Linked DNA regions of Homo sapiens: regions 1, 2 and 4 are each linked to region 3. Evidence: promoter capture Hi-C in human tissues and cell types (Jung and others, 2019). All regions are on one chromosome and are shown on one strand. Each heading gives the region's core, a stretch centred on a gene start or on the middle of the fragment in contact. The rest is flanking DNA. Distances are from core to core; before and after follow the strand shown.

Region 1 (3,249 bases), core at 84-2,583, 670 kb after region 3:
TATCAAAATTACTGTACTTGAAACACTGAATGTGATTGTGAATTCTTGAACAAGAGGAGCTCAGCCCATGCCTAACACAAAATAAATTCTCAACAAGTTTTTAATGAATTGAATGTAAATTTCTTTCTGCATAAACTCTAAATAAGCTCCATAGTTCTAGTCTCTTCTTCCCATTATCCATACTACAGATTAACCTCACTAAAACAAAATGTTTATTTCCTAAAACTTCAGTAGTTTCCCAGTGCATATAAAAGCAAATCCTTAACCTTAACTCTTTACAAGATCCTTTCAATTTATCTTCACCCTGGGGCACACATACCCCTGGAGAAAAATAAAGTCCTACTAAAAGATAAAGAACCACAAATGGTTTTAAGCTAACCCATTTCCAGATCCTTTGTCTCCTTTATAGGACTTCCTCAAATAAATCTGCCTGAGAACACACTTAAAGTTGAGGCACCATACTGGTTCCTCCTTTCTCATCTCCCTTTGTACAGTAATGTCTCTTCACCCATCTTCAAACTAACAAAGGTGCACTCCCCTGATGCTCCATCCAGGACATCAAAGGGATCATTCCAAGAACTGGGAAAGAACCAGAGACCTACATATATTTCTTATTAAGGGCAAAACATTGTCTGTTTTAGGCCTAAGAGACAATTACAAAACATTCCACCCAACAACAGCAGCATAGTTATCAAGTGCTCATGAAACACTTGATAGAGCCTGTTATGCCATAAACAAGCTTCAATAAATGTAAAAGGGCTGAAATTACACAAACTATAATCGATCTCCTGTAACAGTAGGAAAATTAGGGAATATACAAATATGTGGAAATTAAACAACACACTCCTAATTAACCAGTGAGTCAAAGAGGAAATCACAAAGAAAAACAGAAAAGACTTTGAGATGAATAAAAATGAGACTACCACCTGTCAAATCTTACAAGAGGCGGCCGGACATGGTGGTTCATGCCTGTAATCCCAGCACTTTGGGAGGCTGAGGCAGTCAGATCAGTTGAGGTCAGGAGTTTGAGACCAGCCTGGCCAATATGGCAAAACCCCGACTCTACTAAAGATACAAAAATTAGCCAGGCGTGGTGGAAGGTGCCTATAGTTCCAGCTACTCAGGAGGCTGAGGCAGGAGAATTGCTTGAACCTGGGAGACAGAGGTTGCAGTGAGCCGAGATCATGCCACTGCACTACAGCCTGGGCAACAGAGCGAGACTCCGTCTCAAAAAATAAAAATAAAAAGTCTTACAAGAGGTGGCTAAAGAACTGCTTAGGAGAACATTTATTGCTATAAATATCTCTAATAAAAAAGATGAAAAATTTCAAATAACTTAAACATTCACCATAAGAAACTGGAAAAAAGAATAGAAAATTAACTCTAAGGCAAGCAGAGGAAAAAATGACAATGATTAAGGTAAAGGAAATAAATGGAAAATAGAGAAAATTGGCAAAACTGAAAGTTGGTTTTTTGAAAAGATCCATAAATGTGACAGGCCTTTAGTTGGATTGACCAAGATTTTTTTTAAAAGACTTAAATTACTAAAATCAAGAATAAGACATGGAACATCACCAACTACCTTATAAAAGTAAGAAATGATTATAAAAGAACATTATGGACAACTGTACACCAAATCAGATAATTTACGTGAAATGGACAAATTCCTAGAAAGAGACGAATTACTGAAGAAATAGAAAATCTGAATATGCCTGTAACAAGTAAAAAGATCAAATTAGTACTTTTAAAACTTCCTACAAAAAAAAGCACAGCCCAGAAAAGCACAGCCCAGATGGCTTCTCTGGAGAAATCTACCAAACATTCAAATAATTAATATCAATCCTTCATAAACTCTTCCAAAACGAAAGGAAAGAACATTTCCCAACTAATTATATGGGGCCAGTATTACCCTAATATCAGAACAAGACAAAGACATCAAACAAAAACTACAAAGTAATATTTTTTATTAATACAAACACAAGAATCTTCAACAAAATATTACCAGCAATATTAAAAAGGACTGGGCCGGGCGCGGTGGTTCACGCCTGTAATCCCAGCACTTTGGGAGGCTAAGGAGGGTGGATCACGAGGTCAGGAGATCGAGACCATCCTGGCTAACATGGTGAAACCCTGTCTCTACTAAAAAATACAAAAAATTAGCCAGGCGTGGTGGCGGGCACCTGTAGTCCCAGCTACTCGGGAGGCTGAGGCAGGAGAATGATGTGAACCCAGGAGGCAAAGCTTGCAGTGAGCTGAGATCACACCACTGCACTCCAGTCTGGGCAACAGAGCAAAACTCTGTCTCAAAAAAAAAAAAAAAGGACTAAGCAACATTACAAGTAGGATTTTTATTCCAGGAAATGCAAGGTCAGTTCAACATATGAAAATCAATTAATGTACTATGTAATACTAATAAAGGACAAAAACCATAGTAATCACAATATATGTATGCAAGAAAAAAGCCAGTGGCCTTTTTTATTTCAATAGTTTTTGGGAAACAGGTGGTTCTTGATTATATGGTAAGTTCTTTACTGGAGATTTCTAAGATTTTGGTATACCTATCACCTGACCAGTGTATGCGGTGCCCAATGTGAAGTCTTTTATCCCTCTTCTTATGTCTTTACATCCTCATGGCTTAGCTCCCACTTACAAGTGAGAACGTATGATATTTGGTTTTCCATTCCTCTGTTACTTCACTTAGAATAATAGTCTCCAACTCCATCCAGGTTGCTGCAAATGCCATTATTTTGTTCCTTTTTATGGCTGAGTAGTAGTCCATGCTGTCCATATCACAGTTTCTTTATACACTCATTGGTTAATGGGCATTTAGGCTGGTTCCTTATTTTTGCAATTGCAAATTGTGCTGCTATAGCACACATAAACATGGATCTGCAAGTATCTTTTTCATATAATGACTTACTTCCTTTGGGTGGTGAGACTGCTCAATTAAATGGTATTTCTACTTTTAGTTATTTAAGGAATCTCCATTCTGTTTTCCATAGTGGTTGTACTAGTTTACATTCCCACCACCAATGTAAAAGTGTTCCCTTTTTACTACATCCACGTCAACATCTTTTTATTATTATTTTTTAATTATGGCCATTCTTGCAGGAGTAAGGTGGTATCTCATTGTAGTTTTGATTTGCATTTCCCTGATAGTGATGTTGAGCATTTCTCCATATGTTTGTTGGCCATTTGTATATCGTCTTTTGAGAACTGTTTATTCATGTCCTTTACCCACTTTTTGAT
Region 2 (3,156 bases), core at 96-2,595, 690 kb after region 3:
CAAGAAGTCCATAAACATTCTGACACGACTAGTAAAATTTTACTTGTGCATATGCGGGTTTCCCATAGCACTTAACAGATCTTCAAAATGGAATTGACACCTACCCCACCCCACCCCCAAAAAAGTATCACTAAATTAAAGGGAAGATGGTAGCTGCAAATAACATGGTCCTCCCAAAACACCTTGCACAAATCTTTCATGCCTTACTGTCCCCTGTGACCTGAATTTGCTCTCATGCTTCTTCTTCACTCACAAAATCCTATTCACTCATCAACACTCAGTTCTACTTTCACTCTTAGGGATATTGCCTTGCACGCCCCCAGGCTCTGAACTCCTACAGCACATCCTACTTCTATCCATTGTACATGTTTGACATTTACAATACCTTTGTGAACTCGATGTGCATCAGGTAGTCTTATCTCCTTACTGTTCTGTGTCCAGCATCCTTAACTCTCACCTTTTACAAAAACTCCCCCACTCTAGTGATTTCAGTGGGGCTGTCAATCGGACCCCTTCAATAACTGGGCATATGAAGTAGATTGGGCCATACCATTCATTCCCTGAAGTTTTTCTGACTGGAAACAGCTCTTTCCTATTCCATCATGCTGTGTAAACATGTACCCAGAACTGTAGGAGCTATGGTCCCCAATTATAAAAGGAGTAAATTTTTAAAAGTTAATGACTGCAAGAAAGAATGCAACACATAGACACAGAGATATCAAATGGAGACACAGAGGTCTTGATGCCTTAAGGACCTGATTCTGTTCAAACCGTGTTCAAGTAAGACAAACCCCAGGCTATAACCAATCTGGCTATTTCTGTACCTCACTTCATTTTCTGTACATCACTTTCCTTTTTCTGTCCATAAATCCTCCTCTACCACATGGCTGTGCTGGAGTCACTGAGCCTACTCTGGCTCAGAAGGCTGCCCAATTTGTGAATCATTCTTTGCTCAATTACAGTCTTTTAAATTGAATTCAGCTGAAGTTTTTCTTTTAACAGATGGTGTCAGAAGTGGGATCCGAAGTAGAGCTTCTAGCGACCCCCAGGAGCACTGAGTGACCAAGCGAGATACCCACCAGGCCCATTGTGTCCATTCCTCTCTCAGAACAGCTGAGGATTGTGGAAAGTTCTCTCTCGCATTCCAAAGTTCCACAGATTTGTGCTTAGCGCTCTTTGAGTCTCTTTGAGCAAATTTCTGATCCAAACTGGGTTTGGAGGTCATGACAGAAACTGGACTAGGTCTAGGATCAGATTACATCTGATATTAATTGGGCTGGATCCAGTTAGAGGCCTCTTACATCTGACTGGGTCAGAAAGAAACCAGTAGTAAATGGCAATATTGGAGGGGGTATAAAATTTGGCTTTTGGAAATTCACAGGGATTTGTGCATTCTACCCTCTTTGTTTCATTTTTCTTGTGCACTTAGATAGAAAAAAAATCACTAGCTAAGTTGATCAGGGGAACCTGAGAGCAAAGCCAGTATTTGAGGTAAAAACAGGCTCCTTAATTTGTGAAGAACTGAGTTCCTTCTGGCTTATACATGCATAAGTATTAAGCCCTGGAGGCAGCAAAGTCTTACAGAAATGGTGAAATCTTACTAAAGATAAGTTACAGTGCTTATCCGAATGAACAACACTGAACAGAAGTGCATGTGATTGGGGGCTCCCAAATTAGTCTTATCTAGGGATGCCTACTGATATGTAGAAGCTTCTAAAAAGATTGCATTATTTTTATCTAAAGACGTTATCAAAGGCAAATAAAAACCTTAAGTGACTAATTGATTTAAAACAAAATTAAATCTGCTAACCTTTCGGCTTAGTTACTAGCCTGCCCCAAAGGGAAAAAGAAAGCTATCCTATATAAGGTATTTATGAAGGTAGGCCCTCAAGTAAAATAGGCTTGCTTCTTTTTCAGATCTATTTATACTGAGTTCTTTTTGTTTGTTTTTTTGTTTTTCATTTGTTTTTTTGTTTGTTTGTTTTGAGACAGAGTCTGGCTCTGCCGCCCAGGCTGGAGTGCAGTGGAGTGATCTCAGCCTCACTGTAACCTCCACCTCCCCGGTTCAAGTGATTCTCATACCTCAGCCTCCCAAGTAGCTGGGATTACAGGCATGCACCACCACGCCCAGCAAATTTTTGTATTTTTTTAGTAGAGACAGAGTTTCACCATGCAGGCAAGGCTAGTCTCAAACTCCTGGCCTTAAGTGATCTGCCCGCTTTGGCCTCCCAAAGTGCTGGGATTACAGGCGTGAGCCACTGCACCCAGCCTGTTGGCCCCATTCTTTAATGCGCTCCACCCATTACTCTGAACTCAGTAATTTTAGCTAAGAAACAGTAGCTATGTTAAAAAGAATACCCTATTGAACTAAAATACACTTTTCTGGAATTTAATTGGCTATCCTGAAACTCTTTTGTAAAAGAAATCTAAATCTATAAAGGAAATCTCCATTTTTAAGGATATCTGCCTCTAAGTATTAGAAACTCTTACCATTCTTTTTATTTTTATTTTTTTTTTAGTTTTTTTGGAGACAAAGTCTCGCTCTATCCCCCAGGCTGGTGTGCAGTGGCGCAATCTCAGCTCACTGCAACCTCCACCTCCTGGGTTCAAGCGATTCTCATGCCTCAGCCTCCCCAGTAGCTGGGATTACAGGCGCCCGCCACCACGCCTGGCTAATTTTTTGTATTTTTAGTAGAGACAGGGTTTTGCCATGTTGGCCAGGCTGGTCTGAAACTCCTGACCTCAGGTGATCCTCCTGCCTCAGACTCCCAAAGTGCTGGGATTACAGGCGTGAGCCACCACACTTGGCCAACAATTTTGTATGTAGCAAACCTTAAAGTATTTGTTTAAGGCCTATTAGAGCTAATAAATGAATTCAGCAGTTGCAGGACATAAAATCAACATGCAAAAACCAGTTGTATTTCTGTATACGAACAACATGAGAATGATATGAAAAGGAAGGCCAGGTGCGGTGGCTCACACCTGTAATCCCAGCACTTTGGGAGGCCAAGGTGGGAGGATCACCTGAGGTCAGGAGTTTGAAAATAGCCTGGCCAACATGGTGAAACCCCATCTCTACCAAAAATACAAAAAACTAGCCAGGTGTGGTGGCAGGTGCCTGCAGTCCCAGCTACCTGGGAGGCTGAGGCATGAGAA
Region 3 (3,356 bases), core at 373-2,872:
AAACCTTTAACAGAGAGAAAAGCCAGAGACTGTCAGAGAAATTCAAGTTAGAAAACCCATTGCTTCACTAGGGCTTTTGTCTTGGATTCGGCCCTTGCCTATCCTGTAGGCACCCTGTCACCTTCTCCTGTCCACATACATGCCACACTCTTTCAGGCCTCTGGGCACTCACACTGCTGTTCCCTGTATGGGATGGTCTTACCCCACTTCAATGATAACCCTTCCTCAGAGACTTCTTGGCCACTCTAAATCAGCACCTGCTGGTCCATTTTCTTCATGACACCCAGACATTGCATTATTTGTGTGTCCGACTGTCACTTCTTTCCCCTGATATTCCCAGTGCCTAGCACATAGTAGGTGCTTAATAAAGACTAACAGGATAAAAAAAAATCACAGTTGCAGAACACATGCTGCTTTGGGAAGGACATAGAAGCACTTCAGTCTTCTCACATTAGTTTATGGAGAGAGTAGCTGGCTTCCTGAACAGAGAGGTGGGCAAGGCCTTTTATCAAACGGCTGGTGAAGCCGAGGGTTAACATGAGCCAGGGCCAGTTGGGGAGGATCACCAGCTACTTACCAACCGATTCTCTTTGCCTCTTGCTTCCCGGCAGAACTTTATAAGTTCGTTTTCAATAGTGGCTGGTGAGAATGTGACATCTCTGTCTTTGAGGTCCTGGTAAAATCTTCCCAGATAAGAAATACAAACTGGAAAAGAGAGGGACGGGAGATGCTCAGCAATCACCAAGCTGTTCCAATCCACCAGAAAAGAACTCCGCCAGCAATTTTAATAGGAGACACGGAGATGAATCATTAGAGGTGAGCTTTTCCATCACCGATTTTTCTCAGGTGTCTACAGGTAGACAGAACCCGGTTCCAAGTGGCGGGGGTCCCCTGGTACACCCAGGGCATCAAAGGACCAAGCATCACCCAATGACCTATAAACGACTTCTCCCTGCTCCTTTCATCAAGTTTAAGCCCATGGTGAACACGTGTCCTTGAGACGGGACTCACTGTGACCTCATAAATGGAGAGACTGGAAGGTGAAGAGAAAAATGATCAAAATGCTGCTGCTAATTTCCAAATACAACAGCGGACCCAGAGGTGCAGCTTCGTGATCCCAACAGACAGGGCGCAGCACCCACGGCCAGCCCTGGAGCTCCCGACGCCGAACGGGGAGCGGTAACCTCTAGATGGTGGTGGGGACAATAACTCAGGAGTGATGGAGATTTCAGGACAAGTTTTCAACGGGATCTAGTCTCAACTTTTCTTCGTCGGACCAATGTTTTCTAGGCCCAAGAAAGATTTACTAGGGCGGGCGCCGGAGCCTCCTCATGCAGGCCCCGCGGGGACCTGCTGTCGCCCCCGCCCCCGCCCCCGCCCTCGCCCTCTTGGCCCCGGCCGTCTGGTGATGTTGTGGGGTTCAGCGCCGCCGCCAGAACGGTCACGGAGCGCGGCCCCCGGCCCCCTATCCCGCACCTTCGCAGTCGCCCGGCCGCAGCGCCCGGCTGCCCGGCAGCACGCTCAGAGCCAGCGCCACCGCCAGCCCCTGCGTGGCCCACATCCTCCTCATCCTCCTCATCCTCCTCCTCCTCCTCCTCCTCCGCTGCCGCCGCCGACCGACTGAACCGCACCCGCCGCGCCGCACCGCCTCCAAGTCCCGGCCGCGCGCCGTAGCTCCCCATTGGCGGGGGGCCCCCCGGCGCCCTCCCACATGCCACTTCCCCATTGGTCCAGGAGCCGCGAGCCCAGACGGGCGGCTCCACGCTGCCCTCCCTCATTGGCTGGTGGTGTCTGAGCCCTAGACAGTTGTCGGCCGCTGATTGAACCCGGGCTGGCCGCAGGAAGCGACTACAGCAGCGACGGAAGCGGTGTGGGCCGCCATCTTGGGTAAGGGCAGCGACTGTGGCTGAGGCTGGGTACTGCTAGCTGAATGGGGTTCGGCCACGCCTTACATCTGTTGAGTTGACCCGCGTACCCCTGCCCTGGGCCCCAGGCTCCCTCGAAAACCCCTGCTGATCTCCTCGCCCGGACTCCGACTCGTGGTGCAGGAGTTCTGGGGTCAGCCAAGACAACAGGTTAGGCAGGAAGGGCGGGCGGCCGCAGGCAAGGCTCAAAGAGGTTTCTTTTTTCTTCTTTCATTCGCGTGGGCAACGGATCCAACCTTTGAAAGCCCACCTGCTGATCCTCCACCTGACCGGAGCCCGCCGTGCATAGGCTGATAGGAGACGTGCGGGGTGGACGGACTGCGGGACATCTGAAGGAAGGGCTCAAGGCGCGCCAAGCTCAAAGCTGGGCCGCCACTCTAGACCGTGGAGGGAAGCGCCCGGGCCAGATCATCGGTCGAGGACATGGGGTCGCCTCAGAGTGGGAAGGTGAGGGGCTCGGGAGGTGCCCTTACAAGCTCTGAATCGTGGCTTGGTGGCTGGCCAGCCTCCTCCTGCCTCCCCGGCTAGGCCCTCGGGGTCCCCCGCTGCCGTGGGACCTCCTGAGTGGGGTCCCGGGAATCACCAGAGAAGCACTGGAGGATGTTTCCTTTTCGACTGCCCTCCTTTCAAGTGCCCTCCTGGCTGCCTGCCTTCAAGGCAGGATGCGGGAACCGTTGGCTCTACTCAGTGCAAAAAGGACATGTCTATAGGGCTAAAAAGGGCTTGGAGCCCGGCGACAAGGGTTGGAGAGGGGCACATCCTCTGCTCCCATTCAGTGAATTCAGTGGATCAGTATCACGTATTTATCTTTAATTCACATCACAGCAGTCAAGGAAGTGGGGAAAGGGGGAAAAAAAATCAAGTGGCAGATATTTACATCTAAAATTCACATTACTTGTTGGATTTTGAACATGCTACCACAATATATACAGTAAAATACCTCTTGGGACAATGGTACAAATTTTGTTTCCTTTAACTTTGCTTTTCTGGTACAGGTAAGATCATTTTTAAATCACTTTTTTTCTTTAAACATGAATACACAAAAGAAATGGTTAGAAGTTTCCTTGTTTTAAATAAGCACAGAATGCGGGAGGTTAAAAACACATTTATAGTGCTGAATACCAATTGGACATCACACTCTATACATTTTTTGCTCAAATTCCTGTACAAATACACAGCATTCAAATAGGTATTTACAAATAAGCTTGAAAGAATGAAAATCAGTATTTTACAATCTTTTCAAAGGGTTCTCATCTCTGGCCTCCCATTTCCCCTCAGACTGACTTATTCTCCAACAAAAGGGATTTCAGAATGTGTCCTTTTCATTTAGTTAGGGAAAATGGAGAGGGAAAACAAACGGTTTCACCTTGCATAATGCGAAGCCAAATGAACCCATACTCCCCTCCCTACCTCTTGTGCCACCAAGTGGAG
Region 4 (3,298 bases), core at 363-2,862, 880 kb after region 3:
TGAGCAGGACCCCTGCCCCCCTGCCCTCCCATTGTGTCCAGAGGTGGCAGGGGGGCAACTGGCTCAGTGAGGACCCTGCTTGTCCCCCCAAAGAGCTGGACTATCGTCTCCCATAGTCCATCAGGTCCCACCTGTCCACCAGGCCCCTGGCCCCTGCGTTGCCTTCCTCTGATACTTTTTTTGGGGTCTCATGGTTTGGGATCTGCTGGCAAACCTGTCTGGCCCCTGAAGGCTCATTCAGGTCAAGGGAGGAGGACACTTCAAGAAATGAAGGAAACTGTTCCCTGTCAAGCCCTGGTTTGCTGGGATTGGAGAAGCCAAGGCAGGACTAGGCAGCAAGGGAAGGCTGTCCTAGGCCCTATTTCCAGCCCCTACCCCTACCCTTTTCAGTCCAGGGGCTACTATTCCCTTTCAACTGCAAGCCCTCCTTGGGCTGACTTGTGAGTGGGTGATAGGAGAGCCACTGATACCATGAGGTGGGGCATCTGGACATTTCCGAACCATCCTGCCCAGCTGGTTACTATCCCTCATTCCTCGTGATAGGCCAGGTCTGTGGGCAGTTATTGCTGAGGGGGTCCTGCCCTGTGTCAAGTTGGTGGGGAGCATTCTCTCATCCTATCTGCACCAGAGGCAGAGCTGGGTTCCAGGGTAACTTCAGTAGAATCCTAGGGATGGTCTCCCCTCATTGTGAATGCTTCAGTTTACCAAGAGATTCTCCCCATTCTCACTTCATCCTGGAAATGGGAGTGGGCACCCACACAAGCATTCACAAGCGAGGACACTGAGGCTCTGAAAGGGCCACAAGCTGTGGAGTCAAGGTTGACACCAGCCCCAGTCTTCTGCCCACAGCAGGGAAGAGCCAGGGGCCTCCAGGACAGAAAGGACTGGGTTGTGCAGAGATGAGCTTCCTGGCTCTGGAAGAATCTAAACAGAGGCTGTGCAAACTCCGGGAACTGGGGCTTGGGACAGGCCTGCACACAGTGCCTGTTCAGCCCAGGGAAGCGAAGCGAGTGGCTGCAGAGGGCTGCATCCTGCCGTCCCCAGCCCCCCACAACCGTACAGCCGTGCCCAGGTTTCCGCTTAGGGAACCAGGAGGTCCAGGCCCTTTCTGCCAGCAGCCGGGCGTGCAAGCCCCCGACAGAGAGAAATCTTAAAGATAGCTAGAGCCACGGGGGCTGTAAGTTCAGCATGCCTCCTTTTCTGGTCTCCGCTGAAGCTGTCACTCCACCATTAAACCTGTGACTCTAGGCCTTAAGCCTGTTGAAGGTCGAGCCCCCAAAAGGGTCACATATGCTCCTGCCTTGGGCCGCGGGGCCCGGGACTCTTCCCGCGGGTGGGGTGGGGAGGAGCGGCAGGGTCTGAGGTGTGGGGGCGGGGGCGCACCCGGGGCGCTCGGGTAGCAGCTGGGGCGCAGGACGCCCGAGCCAGTAGGGCAGGATTCGGGCTGCGCGGGGACGAGAGGCGCGCGGGCACGGGTGGGCGCGTGGCCGCGGCGGGGGCGCGCGGGGGCGGGCCAGCCCGGGAAGAGAGAGGGAGGGAGGGAGAGAAGAGGGCGGTGCCGGCAGGTTGGCGGCGGCTGCTATTTGAGCGCAGGTCCCGGGCCGGGCGCTCAGAGCGCTTGGAGCCAGCGCTGCAGGGAGATAGCAGCGCGCAGCCCGCAGAGGCGCTGCGGCCCGTGCAGCCCCGGAGGCCCCTCGCGGAGAAGGCGGCGGCGGAGGAGAGGCCGAGTTACCGCCCGCCGCCCGCGCCCCCCCAACCCCGCCGCCGCCGCCGCCGCCGCCACTGCCCCCCCTCCCCGCGGCGCCGCATCTTGAATGGAAACATGGCGGTGCCGGCTCGGACCTGCGGCGCCTCTCGGCCCGGCCCAGCGCGGACTGCGCGCCCCTGGCCCGGCTGCGGCCCCCACCCTGGCCCCGGCACCCGGCGCCCGACGTCCGGGCCCCCGCGCCCGCTGTGGCTGCTGCTGCCGCTTCTACCGCTGCTCGCCGCCCCCGGCGCCTCTGCCTACAGCTTCCCCCAGCAGCACACGTAAGTGGCCTCGGCCGGCCGCGAGACCCCGGCCGAGCCTTGCGCCCCGCTCTGCCCCCGGTCCGCGCTACTCCTTCCCTGCGCTCCGCGCCAGGGCAGAGGCGCTGGGTCCGGCTGCCCGCTGCGCCCGGGGGCGACGGCCCCAAGCCCCGAAGGCTGGCAGCCGCGGTCCCGGCGCTCTGGCTGCGTCGCGAAACTTCCCCGCGGTGCCCCTGCTTCCCCCAAATCCCCCGAATGAGGCAAGGCAAGATCTTCAAGCCCCGGGAGGAGTTGGGGGGGGGCGGTCCGAGCTTGTCAGCTGATTCCCCTGCCGCTGACCCGGTGAGAGGGAAACCCGGGTTGGGTGAGAGGGGCGGCCAGCGACCCCTGTCCGGCGGAGTTGGAGCCGCGCATCTGCCCCACGTTCCCTCCCTGGTGGGAATCCGGCGCTTTACAGCCAGAGGTGAGGGACATCTCCACACCTGCCTTCAAGGGCCTTTTCCTTTAGTGGGGAGCTGTATGCTGATGATGCGAGCACCTTCTTGCTGTGGCCAGTGCCACAGAGGCAGTGTCCCCTGTTCTTGGCCCCCCTCCACCTGAGGAGAGAGTACCCTGGAGAGCCCAGTTGGGAGGTGAAGGCGTTGGGGTCCGGGCAGAAGGTGAATGGTGGGAAGGACCCCTGCCTGCGCCTGCTGCTGCTGCCAACAGAGTAATAGCTTCTCCTGGCTCTGCCAGCCTCCGCAGGTTTTTTGGTCCTTCTGAGCCTTCTCCTCCTCCCCAAGAGCCAGCAAACTCGGGCTGCCTCCTACGGGTGAGCTTAGCCAGATGTGTCTGGGGCTGGGAGTGGATGTTCAGTGCATGTGGCCTTTAGGACGTATCAGTTTCCTGACACTGTGCTTCAGCCCTATGTCAGTGCCCAGACCCCCTTTGGGGCACGGTGACCACCTTGCTTCTGTTATCTGTCTCCGGGTCTGAGGAGCCACCTGTCCCTGGACTCCTTCACCAGTGTCCTGGCCTGGAGACTGGGGCATGAGTCGTCGGGCTGCTGGTGGCCAAGGGGAAGGGTCTGGCCTCGGGGAAAGGGAGAGGCTGGCTCTGCGTCATTTAAACCAGCTCTGCCCAAGGGTAAGAGCCCCTGGTTCTGCCACAAAACCTGCCGACTCCAGTTCGTAGGCTCTCTAAGATGAGGGAAAAACAAACTCAGGAAAACCGCCTCTCTGGGTCTCTCTCTCCGTCTTGTCGTCTCTCTCATTGCACAGCCTGGCTGTGCTCAGGCAGGTGATCAGTTGGC

What was found. The method cuts DNA at HindIII sites, captures the fragments that hold promoters and counts their contacts. A contact is called where the count stands out against the background at its distance.
Region 1: a contact is called between a fragment that was not itself captured here and the fragment with the promoter of MANF in region 3, in 2 of the 25 tissues and cell types used here (bladder and dorsolateral prefrontal cortex).
Region 2: a contact is called between a fragment that was not itself captured here and the fragment with the promoter of MANF in region 3, in 1 of the 25 tissues and cell types used here (dorsolateral prefrontal cortex).
Region 4: the fragment with the promoter of CACNA2D2 here is called in contact with the fragment with the promoter of MANF in region 3 in 2 of the 25 tissues and cell types used here (lymphoblastoid cells and thymus).

What each region holds. Positions count from the first base shown.
Region 1 is chr3:50,710,336-50,713,584 of GRCh38, reverse strand. The region is part of intron 1 of DOCK3 (dedicator of cytokinesis 3); the gene reads right to left. Among named protein-coding and RNA genes, the nearest start is that of MIR4787, 37 kb to the right of the region's middle. The HindIII fragment of the contact is 4,993 bases long and covers 1-3,249 here.
Region 2 is chr3:50,693,641-50,696,796 of GRCh38, reverse strand. The region is part of intron 1 of DOCK3 (dedicator of cytokinesis 3); the gene reads right to left. Among named protein-coding and RNA genes, the nearest start is that of MIR4787, 20 kb to the right of the region's middle. The HindIII fragment of the contact is 5,759 bases long and covers 1-3,156 here.
Region 3 is chr3:51,383,557-51,386,912 of GRCh38, reverse strand. It overlaps MANF (mesencephalic astrocyte derived neurotrophic factor), which reads right to left and starts at 1,622. Exons shown (of 4, transcript NM_006010.6): 1 at 1,477-1,622; 2 at 578-705. The coding sequence starts at 1,570. It overlaps DOCK3 (dedicator of cytokinesis 3), which reads right to left. Exons shown (of 53, transcript NM_004947.5): 53 at 2,715-3,356. RefSeq lists a silencer at 1,427-1,796 and an enhancer at 1,857-2,206. The HindIII fragment of the contact is 5,502 bases long and covers 1-3,322 here.
Region 4 is chr3:50,501,948-50,505,245 of GRCh38, reverse strand. It overlaps CACNA2D2 (calcium voltage-gated channel auxiliary subunit alpha2delta 2), which reads left to right and starts at 1,612. Exons shown (of 38, transcript NM_006030.4): 1 at 1,612-2,028. The coding sequence starts at 1,823. RefSeq lists enhancers at 484-992, 993-1,501. The HindIII fragment of the contact is 18,854 bases long and covers 1-3,298 here.